2 separate regions of the Homo sapiens genome follow, and region 2 is linked to region 1. The links are contacts of gene promoters, found by promoter capture Hi-C in blood cells and fetal thymus (Javierre and others, 2016). All regions are on one chromosome and are shown on one strand. The core of a region is centred on a gene start or on the middle of the fragment in contact, and the rest is flanking DNA. Distances in the headings are between cores, read along the strand shown.

The links. Contacts are between HindIII fragments. The CHiCAGO score rates a contact against its expected background, and 5 or more counts as called.
Region 2: a contact is called between a fragment that was not itself captured here and the fragment with the promoter of CAPSL in region 1, in 11 of 17 cell types (naive CD4 T cells, activated CD4 T cells, total CD8 T cells and 8 more). The highest score is 15.8, in naive CD4 T cells.

The regions. Positions count from the first base shown.
Region 1 is chr5:35,934,904-35,941,492 of GRCh38, forward strand. It overlaps CAPSL (calcyphosine like), which reads right to left and starts at 3,719. Exons shown (of 5, transcript NM_001042625.2): 1 at 3,638-3,719. It overlaps CAPSL-DT (CAPSL divergent transcript), which reads left to right and starts at 3,898. Exons shown (of 2, transcript NR_104630.1): 1 at 3,898-4,021; 2 at 4,820-5,090. The HindIII fragment of the contact is 5,426 bases long and covers 1-4,088 here.
Region 2 is chr5:35,634,655-35,640,882 of GRCh38, forward strand. The region is part of intron 2 of SPEF2 (sperm flagellar 2); the gene reads left to right. Among named protein-coding and RNA genes, the nearest start is that of SPEF2, 20 kb to the left of the region's middle. The HindIII fragment of the contact is 1,579 bases long and covers 3,765-5,343 here.

The DNA.
Region 1 (6,589 bases), core at 2,469-4,968:
TGGATGGTATCTGATTTTGCATAAGGAAACCTACCCCTCTTGCAGTCTTCTCAGATGAAAGCACCTCTTACCCCAAATTCTAAGTATTAAGGAACCTCACAGATTTTAAGATGCACCCTGTCACCTCCACATCATGACCTATATCCACATCCTTCTTTGAAGCACAGCCTAGCTGGACAAACTTCCTATGTTTCTCTTTGGTTCTGTCAGTTTATAAATCACTGACACTCTGAATGTTGCCTCAGAGATGTACTCTCCATTTCAAGTGGTGTCATCAATCTGGGAAAACCCAGAGCTCATCTAGACAATCCATCCAACAGGCAGCTATGAAGTTCCTGGAGCTCCTTGATTTCTACCAACTCAACTCCATCTGTTTGTTGTCTCGGCATTCCCTCCCAACCAAATCTGGTCTCCTCTGAAAGTCCAAACTTCTTTTTTTTTTTTTCTGAGACAGGGTCTCACTCTGTTGCCCAGGCTGGAGCGCAGTGGTGTCATCATAGCTCACTGCAGCCTCAATCTCCTGGGCACAAGTGATCCTCCCACCGAAACCTCCCGAGTAGCTAGGACTACAGGTGCACACCACAATACCCAACTAATTTTTTCTTATTTTTAGTAGAGACAGGATCTTGCTATGTTGCCCAGGCTGGTCTTGAACTCCTAAGCTCAAGCAATCCTCCCACCTTGGCCTTCCAAAATGCTGAGATTACAGACATGAGCCACGGTGCCCAGACTGAAAGTTCAAAATTCAAGATTGACTTTATCTGCAGTGTTCAGTTCCATTATTCCAACTTGCTTCTGACCTTATGGTACCTCCAGACTTTTGGCCCTACATTTTCACCCCAGCCATTACCTACCTCATTCTCCCTTCTGGATCTACTTCCTTTCTTATCCATTTTACACACTCTGCGCATCTTTCTGACCATCTGGTACCAGTGCCTCCCTTCTTGACCCTCATTTTTCAACCTCCCACCATCTCAGAATAATAGCTAACTTGGTTCAATTTGCCCATGTTCCATGTACTTAACGGCAGACTGAAGTGCAGCTGAATAAACCCACATGCCAGCATGGACAGGTGTCACTGTATTTATTCTTTAACCACAGCTAGGCCTTCTGCAACACACAACTCAACTTTTATATGATGTTGGTCAGGTTCTTATTCCAGTCTCCTCAGAGGCTAATCCAAACTTTTGCCACTCCAGACCTTGCCTTGAAAGACCCAGAAAAAAATGGAACCACCAGTTATGAACAAATTCACATCATCCTCCTCCAAATCTATAAAAGTATAGCGCTCTAAGGGCATCCTGACTTCATCCTCCCTCCTCCCTCCTCCAAGAGATTGCTGAACTTCCTCCCATCTAAGGATGCCCTCTCTACCTGCAACACAGAGGCCTACCCCTCTAAGATTCTCAGCCATCAGTTATGCCCTTTTCCTCCTCTCCAGCAGCTCCTTCTTTTAGTTCATGAATCCGCTGTGGTCCCTCAGTCCTGGACTCCCTCTAGCTATCACCCCTCAAAGTCAAACTATTTTAAAGAATTTCCAGATTTTCTACTTTCTCATGCCCCATTCATACTTCGGTCCATTTCAATATGGTCTTCACCCTGTCATTCCAACAAATATACTCTTCAATAAGTCATTGCTAACCTGATTGCCAACTTCAACAGTCATTAGCCCTTAGTTCACTTCTCCAACTAGTTGACTATTGGTCATTCTTCCTTTTTAACACCCTTTCTCTCAATGGCTATAAATCTAACTCCCTGTCTCTCCTCCTCCCTCTTGGATCTGTCCTATTTTGTTTCTTCCTTGTCTTCACCTGCTTCTTAAGTGCTGTTTCTCAGGCTTCAGTTATCTTTCTCTTCTCACTATTCCACTATCTTATGGCAATCTCAGTCATATCCCCTGATACAATGATGACTAACAAATCTTTATTCCAATGTAGGCACTCTCTGGAGCCAGATTTCTCACAAAACATGTGCACTTGGATGACCTACAGACACTTTCAGTTTAATGTTCCAGAGCCAAATTCATTACCTATCTTCCTTACTCTTTGCTTCAGGAAACAGCAATACCATTTACCTGGGTCATTAACTGACCATTATCCTAGACTCTTCCTAACCCTTTACATCCAAATAGCAGCTAAGTCCTATAGAGTTTCACTACCTTGACACATCCCGCATTTCCATTCCCTCATCTCCATTGCCATGGATACTGACTCAGCCTAGGACATGGTCACTTCTCATTTCCACCATTGCAAATGTCTCCTAGTTGGTTTCCTGCCCCTAGCTTTGCCCTCTGTACTTTGTCTTTCAAAAGACTGAGCAATCTTTAGAAAATGAAAACATGAACTTCATGATATAGTTTAAGACCCTTTGATGGTCCCCCATTGCATACAGGTAAAATGAAAGTTCTTAGCATTGAATTCATGCATTGGCCTTTCCTATGTCTCCAGCCATTTCTAGTAATTCTCCATCCGTTCAAAATCTATCCTGCATCTCTACTCACTCACATTCCCCAAACACACCATAGCATTCTGTATCTCTGTGCCTTTGTACATGTAGTCACACTTGCAGGTACACCTTCTTTTTCCTGTTGGCCCAGAGAAGTCCCACCCATCCTTCCATGATCATGTGGTGAAGTCCAAATAGCATTCACATTGCAAGACAATGTAATTCGTTTTCGAATTACTTGCCCTGCTAGACAGACTATAAGGTCCTTACGAGGTAGAGCTGTATCCTTTGCATTTACTATCACCATATCATCAGGGCTTAGCAGGAGGCTATTTTATTGCTATTAGAATTTATCATTGTCATTGCTATTGGGTAATTTTTATCAGAATATAAATACAAATGTATGCCTGAAATTCAAATCTCAATATTTAAAACTTTCAATAACAAAATAGATTTTTGTGGTTGTAGGATTTGAGGAAAAAATAAGTCAAAAAAAAAAAACAGGTAAGAATTTCATCTACTTAATATGGTTTAAATACTCCCCAGACTGAAGGCAATAGAGATGGCTGCCTGGGTCATTGGTGTTGTCCTTTAATGAGAACGTAAAGGACCCCCTCAAGTCTCTGATGAATCAAATCAACTATTTGATATAATTTTGAACAAGCCATGTATGTACACTTTAATAAGCATCCTGATTTTTATTCTGATTCTCAGTTGTCAGTGTATAGCAGAAATAGCATAAGTTTAAGTATCAGACAAAGCAAGGTCTGAATGAAAGTTGAAATGTTTTATTGCTTTGTGACTTGGAAATGCTGAACCTCCCTGAAGCTCAGTTTTATCAGTGGTCATCAGGATCGTTAGAGCAATTCACCCAAACCCTTCACACTCAAATACCTAGTACCTAATGACTGCTCAGTAATGTTTACTTCCTTCCCCTTTACTGAATGAAATTTATTTTTGTGCATTTTTATCTAAGCATTTTTTTTGCAAAGATTACAAAAATCTTTCCCAGTACCAAGCTCTTTCCTCTTGCACTGACAGCCTAGTGATGGCTTCTCTAGTCCAAGAACTCTCAAAAGACTTTTAGATTTTCTTTTTAGAGAGTAACATCTACTGTCTTCTTTTCTCAGCTAAGACATACCAAGAAAAAAAAAAACATTAAATCATAGAATAGATAAAAACATTGATTTACCTTAAATGCTAACCTTTTGCCACCAGTTGCTTCGAACTGAAACTATGGACGCTGTCTCCTGCATCTAGGAAAACTGGTCCCTCCCAAGCCACCTTAGCCTCCTCCCTCTTACCTGTCTTCCTCAGGGGCCCTGGTCCACTCTCTTAGTATTAATTGGAGGACCTGGGATCACTGCTGCAGATTCACAGCCTGATTGGCTCAGCTCACTGTCAATCTCTACTCTGGTTCTGCCTTTTCTCAAGTTTACACTCCTGTTGCCTAGGAAATCTCAGTGACTGTGAAAGCTCAAGCCATTTGCACTGGGAGAGAAGCCAGCCAGAAGTTTTGCTGGCAATGGTTTGGTTTCTAGAACAGCATCAAAACTTGTCTCCCATGTTTTGTAAGGTAGTATTCAGCACATTGTCTTCTTTCTTTTAGGCAGCACCTTCCTGTCCTTCTGTAGTCCCCAGAAAGCTTACTGCTAGGGTGCCTCATTGCCAGGTGATACTTAAAACCACAACTCTTGGGAGCAGGCAGGGGTAATTATAGGTGATTCAAGGTTCTCCCTCCTTCTCTGCATTTGCAGAGGATGTCATTTCTGCTGTTTTCATCCTTGGTTTCTTCTCTTCTTTTCTCTTTTTGTTTCTTTTTACTTATGTTTTTCACATGTTCCCTAGCAGTTACTTTGCCAGATAAGAAGAAATCTAGTGGCTTATTTGGAGGAAAATATCTACACTATGCTCTCTTTCATTGTGTATCTATGACATCCACCCTATCCTTGTCATTCCCACTCCTGCACGTCCTGCTTTCAGGAGCAGGCAGGTATAATTAGTGGTGATTCAGACCTTACACCTCTCTCTTTCTCTCTCTCTCTCTGACACACACACACACACACACACACACACACACACACACACACACACACATCTCTGTATATAACATAATCCTGGCTGTGTGCAACATCCTTGCAGTATAAGAACTCACAAAACGGAATAGATGCCAGGCACCCAGCTCTGCAGACTACTAGGCAAGTTCTTTCATGGATTTGACAAGGGCTTGGGTCCTTTGCTATATCTGCAGGGAGTATACATAGTAGCTATTTCATCCTTTTATCTGAATTGTCTGAAGAATTGTCCCAGAATTAAGCAATTAGAACTGTGGTTCTTCCAGGGCAACCTCAGATGTCTAATGTTTTCTTTTCAGTGGTTTAACCCACAAGATATCACGCATTTGAAACTTTTAAGAAGAAACTTAATTTCATCTGTGAATGCAGAAGCAAATATGAGGGCATGGGCATTTAAATATGAAGTATTTCTTGAAAGCCACCTACTGGAGAGTAAGTTTGGTGCAATAATTTAAGAAAAGATAAAAAAGAAACAGGAAAATTGGGACAACGGACAGCATGATGGAGCCACCGTGCAAGCCCTCAATAGTCTGCCTCCAGGTTGTGTCAAATAAAGTAAAAAGAACAAAATCTCTGGAGTACTTAAGCAATGCTTTTGCTTGTTTCCACTGCTAGCAACTGGTGTAATTCCAAGGGTTTTACCAGTTCAAAAAACTGGATCTGGGTTTGTGGTATTGGGTTTCTGACAATCAATATAAAATATTGATTATATTTTAAGGCATAAGTACTCTTTCCAGTGGTAAAGAAGACAATGATAGTCTATGGTGTAATACGGTAAAAAGATTTGTAAAATATTACTACTGGATTCCTAATCAAATATTCATAAATGGCAAATCTCTAGGTAATCATGATAGCTTAAAATATTTTAGTCAAACTAATAAATGTAATGAGGATGACTGCTTGTAACTGTGGTAGACAAAGTAAAGAAAAATGATGAACTCAGGGCTTGAAATTCCAAGTTCAAGCTCCACATAAATGATCTGAAACCTTCTATGTCTTCCTGGAGGAACGTACTTATCTCCCATTGTCATCAGCCTGAGGTTTCAGAAAATCAAATCTGGAGTCTCATCCTGAGAGTGGCAGAATTACAGTGCAAATTGAATTCCCAACCAGGCAAAGTATCTTCTGCTAAACTGAGGGAATTGATTAGGAAGGAATGAGATTCTGAAAATCGGAATGAAACCTGTAGGGTAGATCCTGATGAAGCTGAGGACACTTAACCTCTAAATTCTCCTGCATCTTCTTTGCCAGTAGGAGCAACCCTGCTATTCATGTCTGAGAAGGTTCATCCTGATTTTTCAAAGGAAAGTGTACTAGCACCTCTGAGGTATTTTAACTGGAAGACACTGCTGATTATCCTCAGAACCTACTTCCACCAAACCTCTTGGCTTGTAGAACTATATCATCTATATCTATATCTATATCTATATCTATCTATATCTATATCTATCTATATCTATATCTATAAATAAGACTCTAGTCCCAACAGGCTTGAAAGAGAGATTAAAATTGCGAACCAATGGGAGACATACTACATTCCAAAAGTAATGCGTATTTTTTCAATTTATACAGACAGAAATCTGGTGAATACATGTGAGAATGTAAGTTAATAGTGTGAAATAATGGTAGAAGGAACATAAAGTTGACTCAAGGTGAATTTATTGATACAGGCCCACAAAGCACAAATTCTCAATATAGAGTTGCAGCTCGATGGGTTTGGTTGAGTTAAGGATGAAACAAAGGGTGGCCTACGCTAAATGAAGCTGAAATACCAGAATTACCTTGGGACACTGAAGAGGAAGGTATCTAAAGGCTTAGGGAGACTGAAATGTTGGACTGGATTTATCACGCAAGACCTGATTACTAAGGGAAATTGAGTTGCTACTACACATTGATGTAAAGAGTAAGCCTTAAAAGGAACAAAATCATGTGATTTGCAGGGACACGGATGGAGCTGGAAGCCATCCTCAGCAAACTAATGCAGGAACAGAAAACCAAATACTACATGTTCTCACTTATAAATAGGAGCTGAATAATAAGAACACATGAACACTCGGAGGGGAACAACA
Region 2 (6,228 bases), core at 3,304-5,803, 300 kb before region 1:
TCCTGTAGGTCTCTGAGGCTTTGTTCATTGTTAAATAAACTTTTTATTATAGAACAGTTTTAGATTTACAGAAAAATCATTGACATAATACAGAGATTTCCTATATTGTACATATCTATTCGTACCTATTGCTAGCATCTTACATTGGTGTGGTACATTTGTTACAATTAATGAGCCAATATTTGTATATTATTATCAAATAAAATCTATATGCCATTTAGGTTTTTTTTTATTTTTTACTTAATGTCTTTCTTGTTCCGGGATCCCATCAAGCATATCATATTGTATCTCCTTAGGCTCTTCTTGAATGTGATAGTTTCTCACACAGACTTTTCTTATTTTCGATGATCTTGACAGTTTTGAAGAATACTAGCGAAGTGATTTTCCCTCAGGTGGAATTTCTCTGATGTTTTTCTCATGATTAGAGTGGATGTATGTGTTTTGAGGTTCTGGTCATTTTTCTTCATGCTTTTTTTTTCCTCCTCTGAATAGGTTTAGTTGACCTGTCTTTGGGTTCTCAGATCTGAGATTCTTTCCTCTGCCAACTCTAGTTTGCTGTTGAACTCTTATTGTGAATGTTTTTATTTCAGTTGTACTTTTCAACTTCAGAATTTCACTGTGTTCCTATTTTTATAACTTCTATTTCTGTATTGATACTCTCTTATTGTTGAAATGGTATTCTCATACTTTATTTTAACTTTAACCATTTTCCCATTTACCCTGAGAACACTAGCTGGTAGTGCTTGCAGCTATAGCATTTACCCTGAGATAACTTTACCATGAAATATCTTGCTTTTATTATTGTTTTTGCATTGCTCTAGTATATTGACTTTGGAAACAAAAGACATCATTCTATTTACAGGATTCAGTTTTTAGCAGTGATATTTCCATTTACAAAATGTAGTAATTCTCAATCACCAAAAACGTCAAATCCTAGAAAACATAGCATTCCTATGTATAATGTTAACACTGTTTTCCAACAGTTGTTGGCCAAAGATTTATTTGGCGAATCCAATTTTTCCAAAATACATGATTCTGATGATTCAGATGATTCTGGTGTTTGCTCTGTTTAGAAATAACTCCAAGAACAGTCTTTATATTTTATTTTCACATTGAAAATTCGTCAGATTTGCTTCAGCCTCATAGAGTGTTTATGTAAAATTAAATAAGCACTGGCAGTGTGCTGCACTTTTTTTTTCTAAACAGGAATAGGGTTTATAAACATAGTTTCTTTTCCTTTCTTTAACATATTTATAATAGGCCATTGAAGGTCTTTGTCCAAGACTTCCCCACGGAGTTTCTATTCACTTTTTTTTCCTTGTGTATAGGTCATACTTTCTTGTTTCTTTGGGTGTCTCATAATTTTTGAAAACTGGACATTTAAAATAATATAATGTGTCAATTCAGATTATTACATATTCCCAGGGTTTGTTGTTGTTGCTGCTGCTTCTGCTTTTTTTGTTTGTTTGTTTGTTTAGTAGCTCTCCTGGACTAATTCTGTAAAGTCTATGTTCCCTCTTGTATACTGCAACTGAAGTCTCTAGTTGATTAGCTTAGTGGTCAGCAATTGAATAGAGATATCTTTCAACACTTTGGACCAATACATTTTCCTTTGCTAAGAAACTCTATGAGTGGATTATGGGATGTTTTCAATGCTCTGGCAGTTTACAATTTTCCCTTAGCCTTTACTTCCTGCTTGTGCAACATCTCAAAGTCAGCCAAAGGTGAGAGATTTGGACCTCCTCATGTCTTTCCTAGGCATCCATACATTCCTACACATGCATATGGCCTCAGAGTCCCTAACAGACATCTCATTCCTAGGTCTTCCTTTTAAGTTTTTGGCCAGGCTCTTCTTTGCTCCAGCTGGTTTTACTGTCTCAGGTAACTGTGATTATAAATAATTGCTATGATTGTTTTTTCCTAACACCCTTGGGATAGGACTTTTTTCAGTGAGTAAGCTCTATCAGGTCAAATAATGACAAGGCCTGAAAATGGGGATTTTCACAACACTACTGGGTAGTCAAATAGTAATACTCTGGGCCGGGTGTGGTGGCTAATGCCTGTAATCCCAACACTTTGGGAGGCCAAGGTGGGTGGATCACCTGAGGTCAAGAGTTTGAGATGAGCCTGGCCAACATGGTGAAACCCCATCTCTGCTAAAAATACAAAAAATTAGCTGGGTATGGTGGTGGGCACCTGTATTCCCAGCTACTCAGGAGGCTGAGGCAGGAGAATCGCTTGAACCTGGGAGATGGAGGTTGCAATGAGCTAAGATTGCGCCGTTGCACTCCAGCCTGGGTGACAGAGTGAGACTCTGTCTCAAAAAAAAAAAAAAAAGAAAAAAGAAAAGAAAAGAAAAGCAACACTCTGAAGACAGGACTTTGGAGGCGCTTCAAATCTGTTTGTCTGCTTTGATGACTGCTAAACTGCTGGTTTTTATAGCTGCCATGGTTGTAAGTCTGCTGCCGGTTTTCATAGCCACCATGGAGCTAGGGAGTGAGGTATGGACATGGAGCAAACTAAAATGACAAAAAGCTCTCTTTTCCTACCACTATTAAGCAGCTTTTCTTAAATAAATGCTCCTTGAGTTGTTACAAGCCTTTAGCTAATTTCCAGAGTTATGAAAAGGTTGATTTTTACAATTTTTATGAGTGTTATTGTTGCCTTTAAGGAGGAACCGATTTTTGGAGGTTCTCACTCTGCCATTTACGAAGATGTACTTCAAATTCATAATATTTTAACCTGATACTTCCTGCTTAAGTACTTCTTATTTTTGTTTGTCTGAAATGATAGGCCTTTATGAAGCTGCACCTGTGTTATAAGACTTCTGAGCAAAAGAACCTCTGATATTTCCATGCTAGAGGTGAATTATTCTTTCATAATCCAGATTATCCTAGTTGTACATATAGCAACTGTATGACACAAAAGAAGCCATGGATTAGAACTACACTGTCATACCAAATAAACCCTTTTTTGCTAATCCCATCTAATTTCTTGAGCTTCTGGTGTACAGGGTAACATCCTAACCCATACCTACATCTCATATCACACATCTCTTCCTCAAGTACATGGCATATAAATTCGTTGTTAGCCCCAGCTGCCCCCTCTTCCTGACCTCTCAGCCCTTCGCTCCCTCTGTACCTAGCCTTGCTGCCACCATTAGAAGCTGGATTACCCTCCAAGGTATAAGAATGCCAGGGTAGGTAGGTCAGTGTCCATGCCCTCATTTTCTTTTTTGTGATTTCTCAGGAGTTCTTATACATATAGATTGATGTGTTATGACTTGCACGTAACCAGATGTCCAATCCTTTTGTTGTTGTTGCTGTCTATCCCTTTATGAAAGTGAGAAACTCAGCCTACACATTTAATTTTTATAACACTGATCACTTTGTTGTCAGTTTCTTTATCTGTGTTTCACATTGCACAGAACACCATGAGGTTAGGGGTATTAGGTTATTTTTCTTTATATCTCTAGGGCTTAACATAGGCCTGGTGCATATTTAGCTTTCAGTCAATGTTTTTTAAATTAATGAATGTCTACATTTCCTAGTAAATTCTACAGATAAAGACCTTGTTTAGACTTCCCAACATGAAGCTAAAACTCTACACTCATATCTCTAGGTATGATATCCCCATCAGCTTAAGAAATTCAAGTGTTCCAGTCTCTCTGTTGCTCTCAAGGTCATGGCTTATAAGGTGCTTCTCGGTGTGACCCTCATTTACCTTTCCAGCCACATTTCCCATCAACGGAGAATCCTAACCAAAGCTTCTGTGGTCCACATACACATCGTATGTTTTTGTTATGCCTTGCACCTTTGCAAATTAATGTTATTTTTTCACTTCTACCATGAGAAACTTGTATTTATTCTGAAATGCCAGCTAAAAATCTACTCCTTCTCTAAACTCTTCTTTTACTTTCTTAGTAGATTTAGTCTCCCTTTTCTCTTTGTTCTAATAAAACTTTGGACATCCCTTTCCTTATTACATTATCATTATCAAGTTATAATTATTTATTTATGTATCAGTTCTTATCAGAGTGCCTGCCACATGAAGGAGCCCAAACAACGTTTAATGAATGATAAATGAATGTTTACTCCTCAACTAGATTGTGAAGATCCTGAAAGTTGCAGCGTGTGTTTATTCTTTGTGCTCCAAGCATTGTCCTGGTCCATAGTAGGCTCATAATATTGTTTCCAATGAATAAATGAGGGATATCAGGGAGTATATCTGCTTAACCATGGAAAAGTTAAAGGACCATCCTGACCAGATCGCAGATGAGTGTTTCAGGTGTACCAAAGTGGCTCTTATTGGCAGGACCACAGAGGGCCTTTTGTGAAATGGAAAAAGGGTCCCCATCTGGCTGGAAATGACTGTAAAAATGCAGGCCTTCGTGAACACAAAGGCCTTTTTACAAGGAAAAAGGAGCCCCATTTTGGATGAAGCAGTCTCATGCCAGGGACAAGGCTTAACAATCTGAACAGAGGGTAGATTTCATACTCTTGTTCCACCTTTGGATAGATGTGTGTCCTTTGTAACAGCCCTGCTTGTCATATACTACAAAGGACTAACTTTCTCTCTCACCACGAGTCATTGCATTCCCTAATGTGGGAAGAGGGTCCTACTTGTATTGAGAACCAAATATCATCCATCTTCAATTCTTGGAACAGCCCATTTTTTCCCCAGGGCACATGGTCTTTTAAATAAGACAAGGATCAGTAAATTTTATGGGCATAACCTTTGTAATGGTATATTTGGTAGGGAAAATAATCCCTTTTTTGTCATAGCCTAATTTTTAGGCAACTGGTGCCAGGGCTCATGATTTGGGGATCTTATCTAACACTTTTAGTTTCTTTAGTTTAAAATGTAAACTGGAAATATATTTTGTAAATAACTTAAAGTTATTCATCTTGGAAATAATTTAATTCTAAGAATACTCATCTAACTCTGAAAGAATTCCCTGATTTTGAATATTTTTATTCCTTCACAAATAGTGAAAATTGAGAAGATTTGTTTTTTTTTTTTAAAGTAAATAGTCAAGACAATTTCTCGGAGGGCAGCTACTACTTACCTGTAAGAAGAGGTATTCCCTCACCAGATGGCAAGAAGGGAAGGAGATAGGTAGTCTCTTAGCAAGCAAGGACTGCTGGTAGAGAGGTCCCTCAGAGGTCATCATTTACCTCATATGCTCTGTCTCCAGAGCAAAGATGTCCCAGTGGTTTTTCTGTGTTCAAAAAACAACTGTTGATTATCCTATCATTCTGATTCTACCCATGCTTTAACAAGAGTAGGCTTCCACCAATTTACACACAAGTTCTGTTCCCCAAATTTGATTGATTAGAAATAAGCTTCCAAAGAGAAGTATTGTTAGACCTGTGTACTTTGGCCAGTTCATAAAATACATTTAAACCCTAGTAGGTAACTGAAGTATAACATTAACAGGCTTATTAACTGCATTCTGGGAGCCACATGATACAATTGAGAGAAAGAGAAAACTCTTCTCTCTTTTTCTTGAGTGCAGGGCTAAGCTTTGACAAAATTTGGAAATGGGTAATGTTTGCTTTTGGACTCTCCCTCCTGAATTAACATGCCCCTAAAATCTGTAGCCCAAGGTTATAACCCAGACCAAAGCTCTGACAGATGGCTCTCAGTTCACATCTTTCCAATTATGTGTAGTGAGCAAAGCACACAGGACTCCTAAAATGGGAAGGGCATGAAAGGACGACTGTGATGGAAGATCAAAAGGGGTGATAGATGCCTTTCTAGAGAATGGAAGCACATGTCATTGATTTGACTATCTTCTTTCACAATCATATTCCTCAAAACATGGTCTGCTTTACCTGAGTCATTTTAGACAAATGTTGTATCTCCAACTGTACGATGATTTGTGGAGAAACAGATTGCAAAACTGGACCTGAGAAGACCTTTAAAAAAGTATATTTAGTCTCATGCTGAGAAGGTTTTCTTGTAGCATGCATTATCTCTTCTCGTCTCCTCCAAGGCCTTTTTCTCTTTTATTAATTTAAAATATTTTATTTGAAGTTTGATTGATGCCGCATAATACACTAAATATATCTTGCTAAATATTTATGTTAAAAGAGTTACTAGTACACAGAGGAAACAGGACAGTAAGTTACACCACATGATCAGAACATGAATTCAAGATATTGCATCACTATTTTTGTTGACATTGGCCATCTCATGGTGCTGGCTCCTCATTTATATTTAGAA